3 separate regions of the Homo sapiens genome follow, and regions 1 and 3 are each linked to region 2. Evidence: promoter capture Hi-C in human tissues and cell types (Jung and others, 2019). All regions are on one chromosome and are shown on one strand. Each heading gives the region's core, a stretch centred on a gene start or on the middle of the fragment in contact. The rest is flanking DNA. Distances are from core to core; before and after follow the strand shown.

Evidence for each region. Contacts are between HindIII fragments. The study calls those that stand out against the background at their distance.
Region 1: a contact is called between the fragment with the promoter of NUMBL here and the fragment with the promoter of CYP2A13 in region 2, in 1 of the 25 tissues and cell types used here (heart left ventricle).
Region 3: a fragment that was not itself captured here is called in contact with the fragment with the promoter of CYP2A13 in region 2 in 3 of the 25 tissues and cell types used here (aorta, dorsolateral prefrontal cortex and spleen).

Annotation. Positions count from the first base shown.
Region 1 is chr19:40,688,643-40,693,353 of GRCh38, forward strand. It overlaps NUMBL (NUMB like endocytic adaptor protein), which reads right to left and starts at 2,009. Exons shown (of 10, transcript NM_004756.5): 1 at 1,818-2,009. The coding sequence starts at 1,841. COQ8B (coenzyme Q8B) reads right to left here. Exons shown (of 15, transcript NM_024876.4): 14 at 4,309-4,395; 15 at 2,888-3,731. The coding sequence ends at 3,393. RefSeq lists enhancers at 300-1,239, 913-962, 2,178-3,115 and silencers at 1,802-2,141, 2,462-2,701. The HindIII fragment of the contact is 7,396 bases long and covers 1-4,711 here.
Region 2 is chr19:41,086,397-41,091,466 of GRCh38, forward strand. It overlaps CYP2A13 (cytochrome P450 family 2 subfamily A member 13), which reads left to right and starts at 2,055. Exons shown (of 9, transcript NM_000766.5): 1 at 2,055-2,255; 2 at 2,533-2,695; 3 at 3,651-3,800; 4 at 4,008-4,168. The coding sequence starts at 2,076. The HindIII fragment of the contact is 9,937 bases long and covers 1-5,070 here.
Region 3 is chr19:40,657,699-40,662,612 of GRCh38, forward strand. No RefSeq gene overlaps it. Among named protein-coding and RNA genes, the nearest start is that of NUMBL, 30 kb to the right of the region's middle. The HindIII fragment of the contact is 4,666 bases long and covers 678-4,914 here.

The DNA of each region.
Region 1 (4,711 bases), core at 759-3,258, 400 kb before region 2:
GGGTCAGACATGCAGGTCAAACACAATAATATGGAAGCCATAATCATATACACACCCCTACAAACATAATTTCCTGGCACCAGCACGGAGACACATCCACAGCTTTAGTCACACACAAATAATCCCTCTAAATAGCCAGGGTTTCAGACACCAAGTCAAATACATAACCCAAATCACACATGCAAGGCTAGAAATACACACAATCACTCGTTATCACACACACTGCTAGATACAGTCATTTATATTAATACAACCTCAGTCACACACTCAGACATGGTTCTGCATACGCAACCACTGTCATACACAATACTGTCACACAACCCCAGTCACACAGATACAATGTGACTTCAGACACAATGGCAGTCACACAGGCAGAGTTGCACAGACAGGTGTGTGTCACTCACGTATATAAAATCAGGTAGAGACACAACTATAAACATTGTCAGTCACTGGGAGGGTCACACATGCACATGGAGCCATAGACAACTCCACTCACACACAGTCACAACTCCACCCACGTCCTGTCAGTCACACGCATGCCCACCCCCAGACTCAACACATACTGTCACATACCCAGTTATAGTTACCGAGGCATACAAACACAGGGTCACAAAAGACACAATCACAGACAACCACAGTCACAACCATGCACACCTCCAAACACAGACAGACTAAAAAGTACAGGATTCTGCACAGTGAGCAGCTGTCACACACACATACACAGTCACACAGATACTAGGGTCACAGACACAATCATAGACACCACCACAAGCACACACACACGACACAGGATTCCTCAGTCACCAGCTGCAGCGTACGCGTGCACACACACACACACATACACAGCCACAGTCACACAAACACAGGGCACACTCCTAGCCACCTCCCCATCGCTTGCTTCCCCCCTTCCCCCCAGGTACCACACACAAAGCCGCCGTCACCGTCACCGCAGACACTGCAGACAGACAGGGCTGCACCCGGTCCCTGGGGAGCCGCCCCCAGCCCAGCCTGTATCCTGGAGCCTGAGGGCCAGGTCCAGGAGGGGGAAGCGGTGCATTGTCTGCGGGTGGGGCCACTCTTGGACAGCTGGGCAGCCCTGGGGACAAAGGGGGTGGCCTAGGGATCCTGTGCCCTGGGACCCATGACCAAGCCAGGGGGTGGAGGGATTGGGGGTTGCCTGAAATTGTCCTTATTTTATTCAGGCTGGGGTGGGGTGGAGTCCCAGGCACAGGGACCTTGTTTTGAGAAGTGGCTGTGCCTGGGACTCCGCCCAAGGATTGGGGGGATGCTGTGCCCAGGGTGCCTCTGAGACCTGGGGGCAGGCTGTGCTTGGAGTCCCCCTAGGCCTTGGCGTGGTGGGAACGCTGTACCCAGTGACCCCATCCTCGAGACCGTACCTAGGCAGTTGTTGTGCTGAGACCCCCTTAGGCAGGGAGAGGTAGGGATTGTGTCTGGAATCGCGTCCTGGAGGCCTTGGTTTGATACGGGGGCTGTGTCCCCGACCCCATCTCCATCCCCATCTAGTTCTAGGAGTTGTACCTAGAATCTCTGTACCCCTGTCCTTGGTTTTGTGGGGGGTCTGTGTCCAGGATCCCTATTTCCAGGGCCTTGGCAAGAGATGGCCCAGGGGTCTGTGCCCAAGACCCCGGTCTCCTGGGCTTTGGCTTGTTGGGCCTGTTCCTGGACCCCCACCCGGGACCACCCTCTCCAGCCTTGGCACCCTCTCTCCATCCGGGCGCCGCGGCCGCCTCCCACCCTCCGCCACATCAGCAGCGGCGCCGCCCCCGACCCGAGCCCCCCTCTCCCGCCCTTCTCACGCTGGCCGCCGCGCTGCGGGACATCCAGGGCCCGGGCGCCCCCGCCTCCCGCGGCCCTGGCTGGGCCTGGCTCCCCGACTGCTGCTGCTGCGGTGGTGGCGGCGGCAGCTCGGTCTGACGCCGGCCAGGGCCCGGGGCCGGGGGATGGTGCGGGATGCACGCGCGCGAGCCTCCTCGGCTCCCGGGAGGATTCCGTTCCGGGGGCGGGGGAGCGTCCCTCGGCCTCGGCTCCCCGCCCCGACCCCGCCCATTGGCCCGCCGCCTGCCGTATATGCAGAAAGGTCCCGCCCCGCCCCGCCCCTTGGCCTGAAGACCCCGCCCACACGCAGACACCATCCCGCCTTCCCCGGCGCGGCCACCGCCCCGCCACGCCCATTGGCCAGTCCCGAGCTGAGCATGCCTATGAACATCGCCGAGTCCTTTCCCCCGGTCCGTCCTGGCCTGGGCTCCCTTTCCCTCCGTGACACCTGACCTCAGATCCCCTCCAGCTCCGCGTCCGAAAGAGTTGCTTCTAGAGGCGCCTTGCCGCCCCACACCCCCAAATCTTCCCGCTAACCCCATGGTTCCCCAGCCCGGCGGGGGCGGGCAGGAGCGGTGACGAGGCACTTTTTGCAAGGAAGGGGAGGGGGTGTGAACAGACCAAGGCGTCCTGATGCGCGATCGGTTCGGCTTTGGGAACGGGGGCGCCGGGGTGGGACCAGGGCGCGGTTCTGGCCGCTACGGCGCCCCCGCCGCCCCCTACGCCAATCCTGTGGGTTTGGCAAAGCAGCTGGCAGGGACATTAGAGCCCATTAGTAAAGGCGAGGTTGCCAGGAGTGAGGGGAGGGAGCCCGCAGCCAAGAGGCACTGTGTGTGTGGGAGGCCTCAGCTGCCACAGCCCTTAGAGCAGGTGGTCAGCACGTGGGGGGGGGTGGGGAAGGCGAGAAGGAGGTTCCCGGCAACAGATGGCACAGGCAGGGCTGAGGCTTTCAGACAAGGGGGTGCAGGGGGGCTGGCCATCTGCACCTGGAGGCCGCTGGCGAGCTCCTCCCCCTCTCCCCCCAACCCTAGCGCAGAGAAAAGAGCTGGGGGAAGGGGAGGGCTGCTTTTATTCCGATTGAAGATTCAGCTCCCCCCCACCCCGCACCCCTACCTCTCCAACACACTGAGAGGCTGGAACCCGGGAGAAGGCAGCTGTTGGAGGAGCGAGGGAGGCAGAGGTGAGGACTGCCTCCAGGACCATCTCGCCTTCCACGGGAGGCTTGAGGCAGAGGTGAGGGCTCCCCCTGATGAGTCTGATCTGCATAACGACATGCAGCGGCCCAAGGCTCCCTCAAATGTTGGCAAAGATAAGTTAACCGCTTCCCTGGCTTAGTTTTCGGATACCCACTTTCGAGTGGGGAGGTGCAGGATCTAGGGCACGAAGTTGGGAGTTCCCCAGCCCCAGGGATCCTGAGCTCCTGGGCCAAGGAGGAGAGCCAGGCAAGACTGGGAAGCCCAAGGGGGCTCCTCTGACCCAGGGCAGACGGGGAAGGGATAAGAGGCACTACAGCAGGGTACGGCCTGCTCTGGGGACTGAATCCCCCATGGAGGCTGTCATGAGGGATCCACCCAGGAGTCCCCTTTGGTGGGGAGGCTGCCGGCAGTGGCTGCGTCTGGCTGGCGACTGGCCCAGTAGCGGTGGTAGGTGTCCTGGAAGAGGTCCCTGCAGGCGATGTGGGCTCGGAGGTGGGCACAGGCCAGGAAAGCCCCTGCCAGCTTGCGGTGCAGGGCATAGGTCTCCTCGGGTGGGGGACACAGCCGGTGCCGCAGCAGCACCGGGATGAGGTCCTGTATGCGGCGGGCCGTTTCCCCCGACCCAAAGTCATAAGGGCCCTGGGTGGCGAAAGGCTCCCCCAGGATCATCACTGCCTCCACGTGGGCGTCGGAGAATGCCTGGGAGTGGGGGTGGGGGGAGAGCAAAGGCAGCCAGTGTGGACATAGAGCCCTCTGCATAACCCAGAAACAACGTGTAGCCTCCACTCCCTCCAGTCTCCACCATCAACACAAGCCCCGACTCCCCCAAGAGTGAGCAGCTTCCACTCCTTCCAGAGCCTGGACTAGACAAGCAGCTGCCTATTCCCCGAGTAAGCACCCCTTACTTCCCTGCAGAGCCTCCAACAGACAAGTAGCCCTCTACTCTCTCTACAACAGAGAAGCGGCCTTCGCCCCTCCTGAACAGATCCACGGTGCCCATGTTCCCAGGGTTCCTGAGAAGTCAGGCAGCCACCTCCCCCCACTCCTCCCCAAAGCCCCCAGCATGGATAAGCATCCCTCCTAGAGTCACCCACTCCCCAGGTATAGACACACAGCCTCCATTCTCCCTAGTGGAGACAAGCCCCTCCTAGAGTCCCCCAGTCCCCGGGTATCGACATGCCCCATCACCTACTCGAGTTCCTCAGTGGAGATAAGCAGCCCCCCACTGCACCCCACCAACAGACACCAGCCCCTTTCTCCCCCAGTGTCTCCCCACCTTGGTTTCAAAGCCTGTGAGGAATTTGAGGTCCCTGGACTTCTGCAGGACACAGTCTCTGTCTCCATCAGCTGCAGCCTTCACCACCTGGGGAGACGGGTGGGAGTTAGAGGGACAAAGGCCGGGGCTCAAGGGGGCTCTGGAGAAGAGGAGCTGGAAGCCTGGGCCTCCCATGTACCCACCTCCATTCTCATCTGCCTGGGCCCTCCCTCACCTGGAAGCTTCCTGCTCCCAACTTTGCCTGTCTGTGACTCCCTTAAAGACTCTTCCAGAGCCTGGGAGTGGAGGTGGTTAGGGATCCTGCCCACCTAGAGGGCAATGTGGGGCCTGCCCGGGAACTGCCACAGTGAAACAGTGCAAGAAACAAGTGTCAGGGCTGCTGGTGAGTCCAAACACTCAACTG
Region 2 (5,070 bases), core at 805-3,304:
ACAGTGGAAGGTCCAAACATCAGAGCCTGTCCTGTGCCCATCTGGAGCCCCTCTCAGGGTCTGGCTGAGGCTCATCTCAGACCCACATAGGACCAATATCAACACCTGCCTCATGCTCATGTCAGAGCCCACTGGGACCAACCTCAGACCCTATATGGTGCCACTCTTATGCCCTCCTGAAGCAGGACTCTCTTATGCCCTCAATGACACCTGAGACAACACACAGAGCCCTCTTGGCACCAAACATGACTTCAATATTCTCCTGGTGTCAAGTTCAGTGCCAACTTGTTTCCCATCCTCGCATACACCTGGGGGCAGTCCCAAAGCCAACACGATGCCTTTCCCTCCCTGGACACACCTGATGCTGATATCAGAACCCGCCAATGTCATCAGTGTGTCCACTGCTGATGCCAGTCCCAGCACTCACCTCCTGCTAAGCCTGGCCTGCACTTGACTCCCAGGGTGATCTAGGCCAGTCAATGAAGGGGGGCGAGGAGAAAGTTCACATCCCAGCTCCCTCACTTACTCCCTGTGTGACCTCACTCAAGAGGATTTATGGAGTCTAGATCTGCTCATCTTCAAAATGAGGATGATCATGATGAACCAACCTCACTGTTACAAAGATTCAACCAGATCATACACACCTAGACTTAATCTTCCCATATATGACCATGCTCACCAAAGGGTAACTGTCCTGTTTACTAAGGAAGAATTTCCTTGAGGGAAGGACAGGAGGGCTACTCATCCCTTCTCCACTCACACCCACCCCAGGATCTGCCTCTGTGCCTAATACTGGAGTTTACCCCAATCTCTTCTGCGATTGTTCCCTCTGCCTACTAATAGTAGTAGCCCCTGACAAAGCAGGAATCGCCCTTAAAGGAGACTTAACTCACCCTCAAACGTGGTCTTCTCTTCCCAAACACTCCCTTTCCACTGGCAGGAAAACCAAATCCAGAAAGTGGAACTAAAGACGCAGAGCAAGAGAGATGGGAGTTCAGGGCCACTCACACATGTCCCCTGCCCACTGTCTGTTTTCTGTCCTCTGTAGATCTTTATATAAAATGAGAAACATAAATAACAATCATAGTATTAATAGGGATGATACAATCAATCTAGTGGGTTTCCCTAAGAATCTGGGTTGGAAACCAGTGGAGTTCTTCGTAAATTACAACCCTTGGGACACTTGAGATTTTTCCAGCATTTGAGGGTTGTTATTACTATTTCTCCAGACCTAGCCAATCCCCTCTGCCAACTGGTAACATGAGGTACTCTTCTCCACGTGTGGGGAAAGTTCCTCTGAAATATGGCTCTCGTCTTCTGCCCCTTTCCCAGCCAGAGATGGGCAGCGGAGGTTCTATGGCACCCATCCTGGCCTCACTCTGAGGTTCCAATGAGGATTCTGGGCATCAAGAGACAGCTCTGGGTCAAAGCAAAATCAAGTCAGTCCCTGGGCCCAGTGCTGGGCTGCTGGGCTTTCTGGGAGCACCTGCTGGGCTTGCTACACACTCCACCTCCCAGAAACTCCACACCCACAGCCCTGGGTCTTCCTAGCCCCAAGACTTTCAAGTCCATATGCCTGGAATCCCCCGTCCTGAGACCCTTAACCCTGCATCCTCCACAACAGAAGACCCCCAGATGCACAGCCACACTTCCATCTCACCCTAGTAAAACCCAGACCTTTGGATTCCTCTCCCGTGGAATGCCCAAATCCACAACTTTGGGGTGCATTCTCACTCCCAGATCCCAAATCCAAAGTCCAGGTGCTCCCCTGTGCAAATATTCCAAACTCCTCAGTTCCACAGTTTATCTGTTGCCCGCTCCTAAATCCACAGCCCTGCAGCAACCCTCCTGAAGTACCAGATTTAGTCTGGAGTTCCCCTCCCTGTTCAGCTTCCCTGGGGTCCCTCTCCTCCTCCCTTGCTGGCTGTGTCCTAAGCTGTGTGGGATTCAGGGTTGGGGTGTAGTTGGGAGGTGAAATGAGGTGATTATATAATCAACCAAAGTCCATCCCTCTTTTTCAGGCAGTATAAAGGCAAACCACCCCAGCCATCACCATCTATCATCCCACTGCCACCATGCTGGCCTCAGGGCTGCTTCTGGTGACCTTGCTGGCCTGCCTGACTGTGATGGTCTTGATGTCAGTCTGGCGGCAGAGGAAGAGCAGGGGGAAGCTGCCTCCGGGACCCACCCCATTGCCCTTCATTGGAAACTACCTGCAGCTGAACACAGAGCAGATGTACAACTCCCTCATGAAGGTGTCCTAAGGCAGGGAGATGGGTGGCACGGGGTGGGGGCTGCCCAGTTGGCTGGGGCTTTGTGGCAGGGGATTGACCAGTGTGGACCAGAGTCTTAGGAAAGGGAGTCTTGGAGTTTCAGCATCAGGGTCCTAGCAGGAAAGACAGGATCTTGGGATGTCCAGCTCCCTGACTGTGAGAACCTGGGGGCGAAGCATCCCAGTACATGATATCTCAGTGCTGGGCCCATTCAGAGTGGGGGCTGCTCCCTCTAACCACTCCCACCTGCCTCCAACAGATCAGTGAGCGCTATGGCCCTGTGTTCACCATTCACTTGGGGCCCCGGCGGGTCGTGGTGCTGTGCGGACATGATGCCGTCAAGGAGGCTCTGGTGGACCAGGCTGAGGAGTTCAGCGGGCGAGGCGAGCAGGCCACCTTCGACTGGCTCTTCAAAGGCTATGGTGAGGGGGTGCCCAAGAGGGGGAAGGTGGCCAGGTGGATGCAATGGTCTCCGTGTCCCCAGCCTTCTCCCTGACTCTCCTGCCCACTGGAGGCTATGGCAGAGCCCCCTGTCTGGTCTTCTCTCCCCATCTCCCTTCATCGTGGCCTCTCCCTGTGCGTCCCTCACCTGTCTCCAGCGTCCCTGTCGTGATTCCTCCCTGCCTCTCTCTGCCCCGTCTCCTCCTTCTCTCTCACTGGAGTCTCCTCTTTCCCCTCTCTCTCCATCTCTGAGGACATCCTGGGTTTCTGTTTTCCAGCCCTGGTCCTCTGTCTTCATTTGTCTTTTTGTCGCTCTCGGCTTCTGTGCTTCTCCGTGTTTCTCCTCTCTCTGCTTCCCTCTCCCACTTCTTCCTCTGTCTTAGGATTTCAGGGTATTCCTACTTCCACATCTCCAGCCTCCAACTCCTGGTAATTGTCTGTCCTCCTTCCCGATCCTCTCTGTTTCTGTCTCCATATTTTTCTCTCTTCTCCAGTTCAGCTTAAGAATCTTTCACCATTTTTATTTCCTCCTCCCAGATCTCCCCATATCTCACTTCCCCTCCCTCCATCTCTCTCTTTCTCTCCCCACTTCCTTCCCTTCCTCCATGGAGTATCCCCGTATCCCTCTGTTTCTCTGCATCTGTCTGTCTGGCCTTTCTGCTTCTCTTCTGATTCTCTTATTCTTTCTACCCGGTCTCTCTCTCTCTCTCTCTCTCTCTCTCTCTCTCTCTCTCTCTCTCTCTCTCTCTCTCTCTCTCTCTCGTGCTCTCGTGTTTCTCTGACTGAGTTTGCAGCTCTCCTGGGCACTCGCGCTGAATCCATCTCTCTCCCACCCCACTCCCTCTCTGCTCCACCCTTGGGGAGCCCCTTGGAGCTGGTCCGCTCCTGCTCCCGCCGCCCCCTGACCTCTCTCCACCCCCGCGTTCACCTCCCCAGGCGTGGCGTTCAGCAACGGGGAGCGCGCCAAGCAGCTCCGGCGCTTCTCCATCGCCACCCTAAGGGGTTTTGGCGTGGGCAAGCGCGGCATCGAGGAACGCATCCAGGAGGAGGCGGGCTTCCTCATCGACGCCCTCCGGGGCACGCACGGTGAGTAGGGGACCCCGAGTGCGAGGGCGGGAACCCGCGCTTTCTGCCTGGGGATGGGGACTAGGTGGGGAAAGGGGCCCGCACTTCCAGCCCTGGAGTCTGGCGCTGGGATTCGGCTCAACAGGGCCCTGCCTCCTGGAATTCTGACTCTCCTCAGACCTCTGAGTTGACTCTCTCCCCAACCCCCTTCTCCCGCCACACCTGCAGGCGCCAATATCGATCCCACCTTCTTCCTGAGCCGCACAGTCTCCAATGTCATCAGCTCCATTGTCTTTGGGGACCGCTTTGACTATGAGGACAAAGAGTTCCTGTCACTGTTGCGCATGATGCTGGGAAGCTTCCAGTTCACGGCAACCTCCACGGGGCAGGTAACTGGCTGCAGCCCGCCAGTGACGCCCCTACCACAACCTGCCAACTGCTCCCCTACCTGGAGACAGGTGCCCCAAACTCCCACCCCCCTCCAGACAGTGTCCCCTCAAAATCAGTCCCCGATATTGGACAACTGGACGGTTGCACCAGAACCCAGGAGGGATGCCCAATACCCAGTCTCCAAGGACACCTGGATAGCTCAACAGATGATCCCCAAAACAGAGCCTGCTGGCAGGATGCATACCCTCAGCTCAGCTCTCTCACCTGGGCACATGTTCCCATCCCCAACTTACCGTAATTTGTAACAGGTGCTCCCTACCCAGTTCTTCTGAATATTTTAACACCTGGACAAGTGACTGCGTCAACCCGCCTCCTGCATACCTGAACACCTGGTGCTGCAAAATCCAGCCCATCATAATCATTTCACATCTACACAAATGTCACAGATTAGCCCACTGGAATATCTGGCCAAGGGCCCTCTACTTCACCCACTTAAATGCCTGAAAACATGGACAGGTGCCCTAACCAATACCCTAAACACATAAATATCTAGATAGATTATTCCCTGACACCCAAATAAGTGTTCCCCAACCCTTTCCAATCACACACCTTACAGAGGTGCTCCCAGTGCATCCCACTTGGATAGGTAAACACCTCAACAGGTATCCCCTCCACTTCAACATCTTCACCAGCCCCACTTTAATACCTGAACACCTGAACAAAAGCCCCCAATCCAGACCCAGTAAGTATCTGGACAGCTGTCTCCAACCAAGTCCACTTGAATGCCTAAATACCTAGACAGGTGCCACTCACCTCATACCAGCCCCACCTGAAGAGCTAAACACCTGGACAGGTGTCTTCCAACTCAACTTCACTTGAATATCTGAACACCTAGATGTGT
Region 3 (4,914 bases), core at 1,761-4,260, 430 kb before region 2:
TTTCACTCTGTTGCCCAGGCTGGAGTGCAGTGGTGTGATCACAGCTCACTACAGCCTCAACCTGCTAGGCTCAAGCGATCCTCCCTTCTAAGCCTCTTGAGTAGCTGAGACTGCAGGTGCCCACCACCACACCCAGCTAATTTTTGTATTTTTTGTAGAGACGGGTTTTCACCATGTTGCCCAGGCTGTTCTCAAACTCCTGGGCTCAAGTGATTCCCCCCACCTTGGCCTCCCAAAGTGCTTGGATTACAAACGTGAGCCACTGTGCTGGGCCTATTTCTTTGTGTTTTAAGAGGCAGGGTCTTTCTCTGTTGCCCAGGTGGAGTACGATGATTCGATCATAGCTCACTGCAGCCTCAAACTCCTAGGCACGGGAGACCCTCCTGCATCAGCCTCCCGAGTAGCCCAGACTACAGGTGTGTGCCACTATACCTAGCTAATGAAAAGAATTTTTTTGTAGACATGAGTTCTTGCTATGTTGTCTAGGCTGGTCTGGAACCTCCAGCCTCAGGCGATCCCCTTGCTTCAGTCTTCCAAAGCAGTGGGGTTACAGGCGTGAACCACCTGGCCTGGTCTCGCTCTTTCTCTTTCGACATCTACATTGATCTGTAGCTATCTACGTACTATAGATATCTAAAAGTTATGTAAATGTCTACTTAAGCTTATAGGTATGAGCTACTGTATGCTATCTAAGCTTATAGGTATGAGCTACAAATTGCTATTGTGTTATGAGGGGAATTCAAAAAGTTGATGGAGAATGGAATTAAGAGATAAAAATTTTAAAAAAATCTTTATTTCTCACCATAAACTCCATCAAGGTCAAAGTCAAGACACTTTTGTAAACCATTATACCAGCCATTTAGTCTATCCCTAAATAACTGAGGGTCCCAGGAATTTAATCATGTCAGTGCAGCCTTTTTACATTTTCTCTTTCTTTTTTTTTTTGATGGAATCTCACTCTGTTGCTCAGGCTGGAGTGCAGTGGTATGATCTCGGCTCACTGCAACCTCTGCCTCCCGGGTTCAAGCCATTCTCCTGCCTCAGCCTCCTGAGTAGCTGGGACTACAGGCATGTACCACCACATCTGGCTAATTTTTTTTTTTTTAGTAGAGACGAGGTTTTGCCAAGTTGGCCGGGCTGGTCTCAAACTCCTAACTTCAGGTGATCTGCCCGCCTCGGCCTCCCAAAGTGCTAGCATTACAGTTGTGAGCCACTGTGCCAGGCCTTTTTTTTTTGTTCTTGTTGCCCAGGCTGGAGTGCAGTGGCATGATCTCGGCTCACTGCAACCTCCACCTCCTGGGTTCAAGTGATTCTCCTGCCTCAGCCTCCCGACTAGCTGGGATTACAGTCATGAGCCACCACACCTGGCTAATTTTTGTATTTTTTTTTTTAGTAGAGACAGGGTTTTGCCATGTTGGTCAGGCTGGTCTTGAACTCCCAACCTCAGGTGATCCACCCTCCTTGGCCTCCCAAAATGCTAAGATTACAGGCGTGAGCCACTCCGCCCAGCCCAGTCTTTTTACATTCTTAACTGAAGAAAAATGGGTGCCCTTCAAAGATTTTAAGATTAGGAAACAAAAAGTCAGAAGGAGCCAAATTGGGACTGCCAAGTGGATGCCTAATAATTTCCCATCAAAACTTGTAAAATTGCTCGTTTGATGAGGAGAATGAGCAGAAGCGTAGACATGCTGGAGAAGAACTCTCTGGTGAAGCTTCCCAGGCTTATTTCTACTAAAGCTTCGGCTAACTTTCTCAAAACACTCTCATAATAAGCAGATCTTATTATTCTTTGACCCTACAGAAAGTCAACCAGCAAAATGCCTTGAGCATCCCCAAAAACTGTTGCTATGACCTTTGCTCTTGACCAGTGTGCTTCTGCCTTGACTGGATCACTTCCCCGCTCTTGGCAATCATTCTCTGATTACGATTTGTCTTTAGGATTGCACCCGTGAAACCATGTATCATTTCCCGTTACAATCCTTCAAGGAAATGCATTAGGATCTCGATCTCACTTGTTTAGCATGTCCATGGAAAGCTCTGCTCTTCTCTGCAGCTGATCTGGGTGCGACCGTTCTGGCACCCATCGAGTGGAAAGTTTGTTTAGCTTTAATTTCAGTCAGAATTGTGTAAGCTGAGGCCGGGTGAGGTGGCTCAAGCCTGTAATCCCAGCAGTTCGGGAGAATGAGGCAGGAGGATCACTTGTGTCCAGGAGTTCAAGACCAGCCTGGGAAACCTAATGAGACCCCCATCTCTACAAAAAATACGAAAATTTAGTGTCAGGCCTCTGAGCCCAAGCTAAGCCATCATATCGCCTGTGACCTGCACGTATACATCCAGGTGGCCTGAAGCAACTGAAGAGCCACAAAAGAAGTGAAAATAGCCTTAACTGATGACATTCCACCATTGTGATTTGTTTCTGCCCCACCCTAATGATCAATGTACTTTGTAATCTCCCCCACCCTTAAGAAGTTTCTTTGTAATTCTTCCCATCCTTGAGAATGAACTTTGTGAGATCCGCCCCCTGCCCGCAAAACATTGCTCCAAACTCCACCGCCTATCCCAAAACCTATAAGAATTAATCATAATCCCACCACCCTTTGCTGACTCTCTTTTTGGACTCAGCCTGCCTGCACCCAGGTGAAATAAACAGCCTTGTTGCTCACACAAAGCCTGTTTGGTGGTCTCTTCACAGGGACGCGTGTGACACTTAGCTGAACGTGCTGGCACGCACCTGTAGTTCCAACTACTTCGGAGGCTGAGGTGGAAGGATCGCTTGAGCCCAGGAGGTTGAGGCTGCAGTGAGCCACAATCTCACCACTGTACTCAGCCTGGGCGACAGTATGAGAACCCTGTCTCAAAAAAAAAAAAAAAAAAAAAGAAAAAAGAATTGTGTAAGCTGTACCAATTGAGATGTCTATGGTGTTGGCTATTGTTTCTGCTGTTAACTGTAAGTCCTCTTTAATTAAGGCATAAACAAATTTAATTTTTTTCTGCAAAAATTGATGTGGATGGTATGCCACGGTGGGCTTCATCTTCAGCATGACCCAGGCTGGAGTGCAGTGGCGCAATCACGGCTCACTGCAACCTCTACCTCCCAGACTCAAGTGATCCTCCCACCTCAGCCTCCTGAGTAGCTGGAACTACAAGTGTGCACCACCACACCCAGCTAATTTATGTATTTTTTGTACGGATGGGGTTTCACCATGTTACCCAGGCTGGTCTCGAATTCCTGAGCTCCAATGATCCGCTGGCCTCAGCCTCCCAAAGTATTGGGATTACAGGCGTGAACCACCACGCCCGAACTTGTCCCTTCTTAAAACGAGTTATCCATTTGTAAATGGCTGATTTCTCTGGGGCACTGTCAAGTTTTTGGAAAACATCAATGATTTCATCATTCTTCCACCCAAGCTTCACCATCAATTTGATGCTTGTTCTTGCTTCAATTTTAGAATTCGTGTTGCTCTGATAGGGGCTCTTTTCAATCTGATGTTTTATTTTAGTGTCTCAAACTAGGTCCTGTTCAGACAAGTTATAACAAGTTAGTATGAATTTATTTTGGTGCAAAAAAAAAAAATTGAACTCCATGCATAGTTTTTTCATAATACACATTTTCCATGAATTTTTGGAAGACCCTTCTTTTTCTCTCTTTTTTTTTTTTTTTTTTTTTTCTGTAGAGATGGTCTTGTTCTGTCACCCAGGCTGGAGTGCAGTGGCACAATCATGGCTCACTGCAGCCTCGACCTCCTGGGCTCAAGCAATCCTCCCACCTCAGCTTCCTGTTACTGGGACTATAGGTGTGCACCACCACACCTTGATAATTAAAAAAAAAAATTTTTTTGTAGAGATCGGGGTGGGGGGGGGGGTCTCACTATATTTTCCAGGCTGGTCTTGAACTCCTGGCCTCAAGTGACCCTCCCCAATCAGCCTCCCAAAGTGCTGGGATTACAGGCACAAGCCACAGTGCCTGGCCAATAAATGTTTTTTGAATGAATGAAGAAATTAGTGCATGGACATATTTTCCCATCAGCTATTACAATAACCAGACTCTGAGTTCCCTGAAGGCAGGGCCTGTGAGTTTCATTGTGTACCCTCAGCCCTCAATAGCTGATAAAAATAAATATTCAGAAAATGCTTGTAAAATGAAGAAGAGAATATGTATGGGACAGAAAGTAGACCAGTGGTTGCCTGGGGCTGGGACAGGGAATAGGGAGCGACTGCAAATGGGCAGAAGGGATCTTTTCAGAGTGATGGAAATGTTCTTGAATTGGCTGTGATGGCTGCAGAACTGTAAAATCACCCAAAATCAGTAAATCACTTATAATAGGTGAATTTTATGACAGGTAGATTATACCTCAGTAAAGCTGTTAAAACAAAACCAGTGTTGAGGGAGGAAATAAATGTTACCTTGGTAATACTGAGGACTCAGTAGTTATCAAGACAGCTCTCTTCCCTGCCCTCATGAGGTTTTCTGTGCAGGGCGGGGACGCCGACCCATTATAGACAGTGACAGCCTAGAGCCATCACGGCGGGATGGTGGGGAGGGGACAGGCAGAGGGGTGGGAGGCCAGGATGGGGGAAGCCCGGGCAGAGAGGTTGGGCTGGAATGGGGGGCACAGGCAGAGGGGTCGGGGCGGGGACTGGTGAGGTGCAGGCAGAGGGCAAAGGGGTCGAGGTCCAGATGGGAGATGTACAGGCAGACGGATCCGGGCCAGGGCGGGGAGGTACAGGCCCAGTTGAGGAGCATAAGGAACCATAGGAGCCCAAAGGAGGCGCCCGACCAGTCAGGGAGGACTTCCCAGAGGGGTGAATGGCTGAGCCAGGGCCTGAAGTATAATGTTCATGAATGCGACAGCAATTTTTTTTTTTTTGAGACCGAGTCTCCCTCTATCACTGGAGTGCAGTGGCTCGATTTCG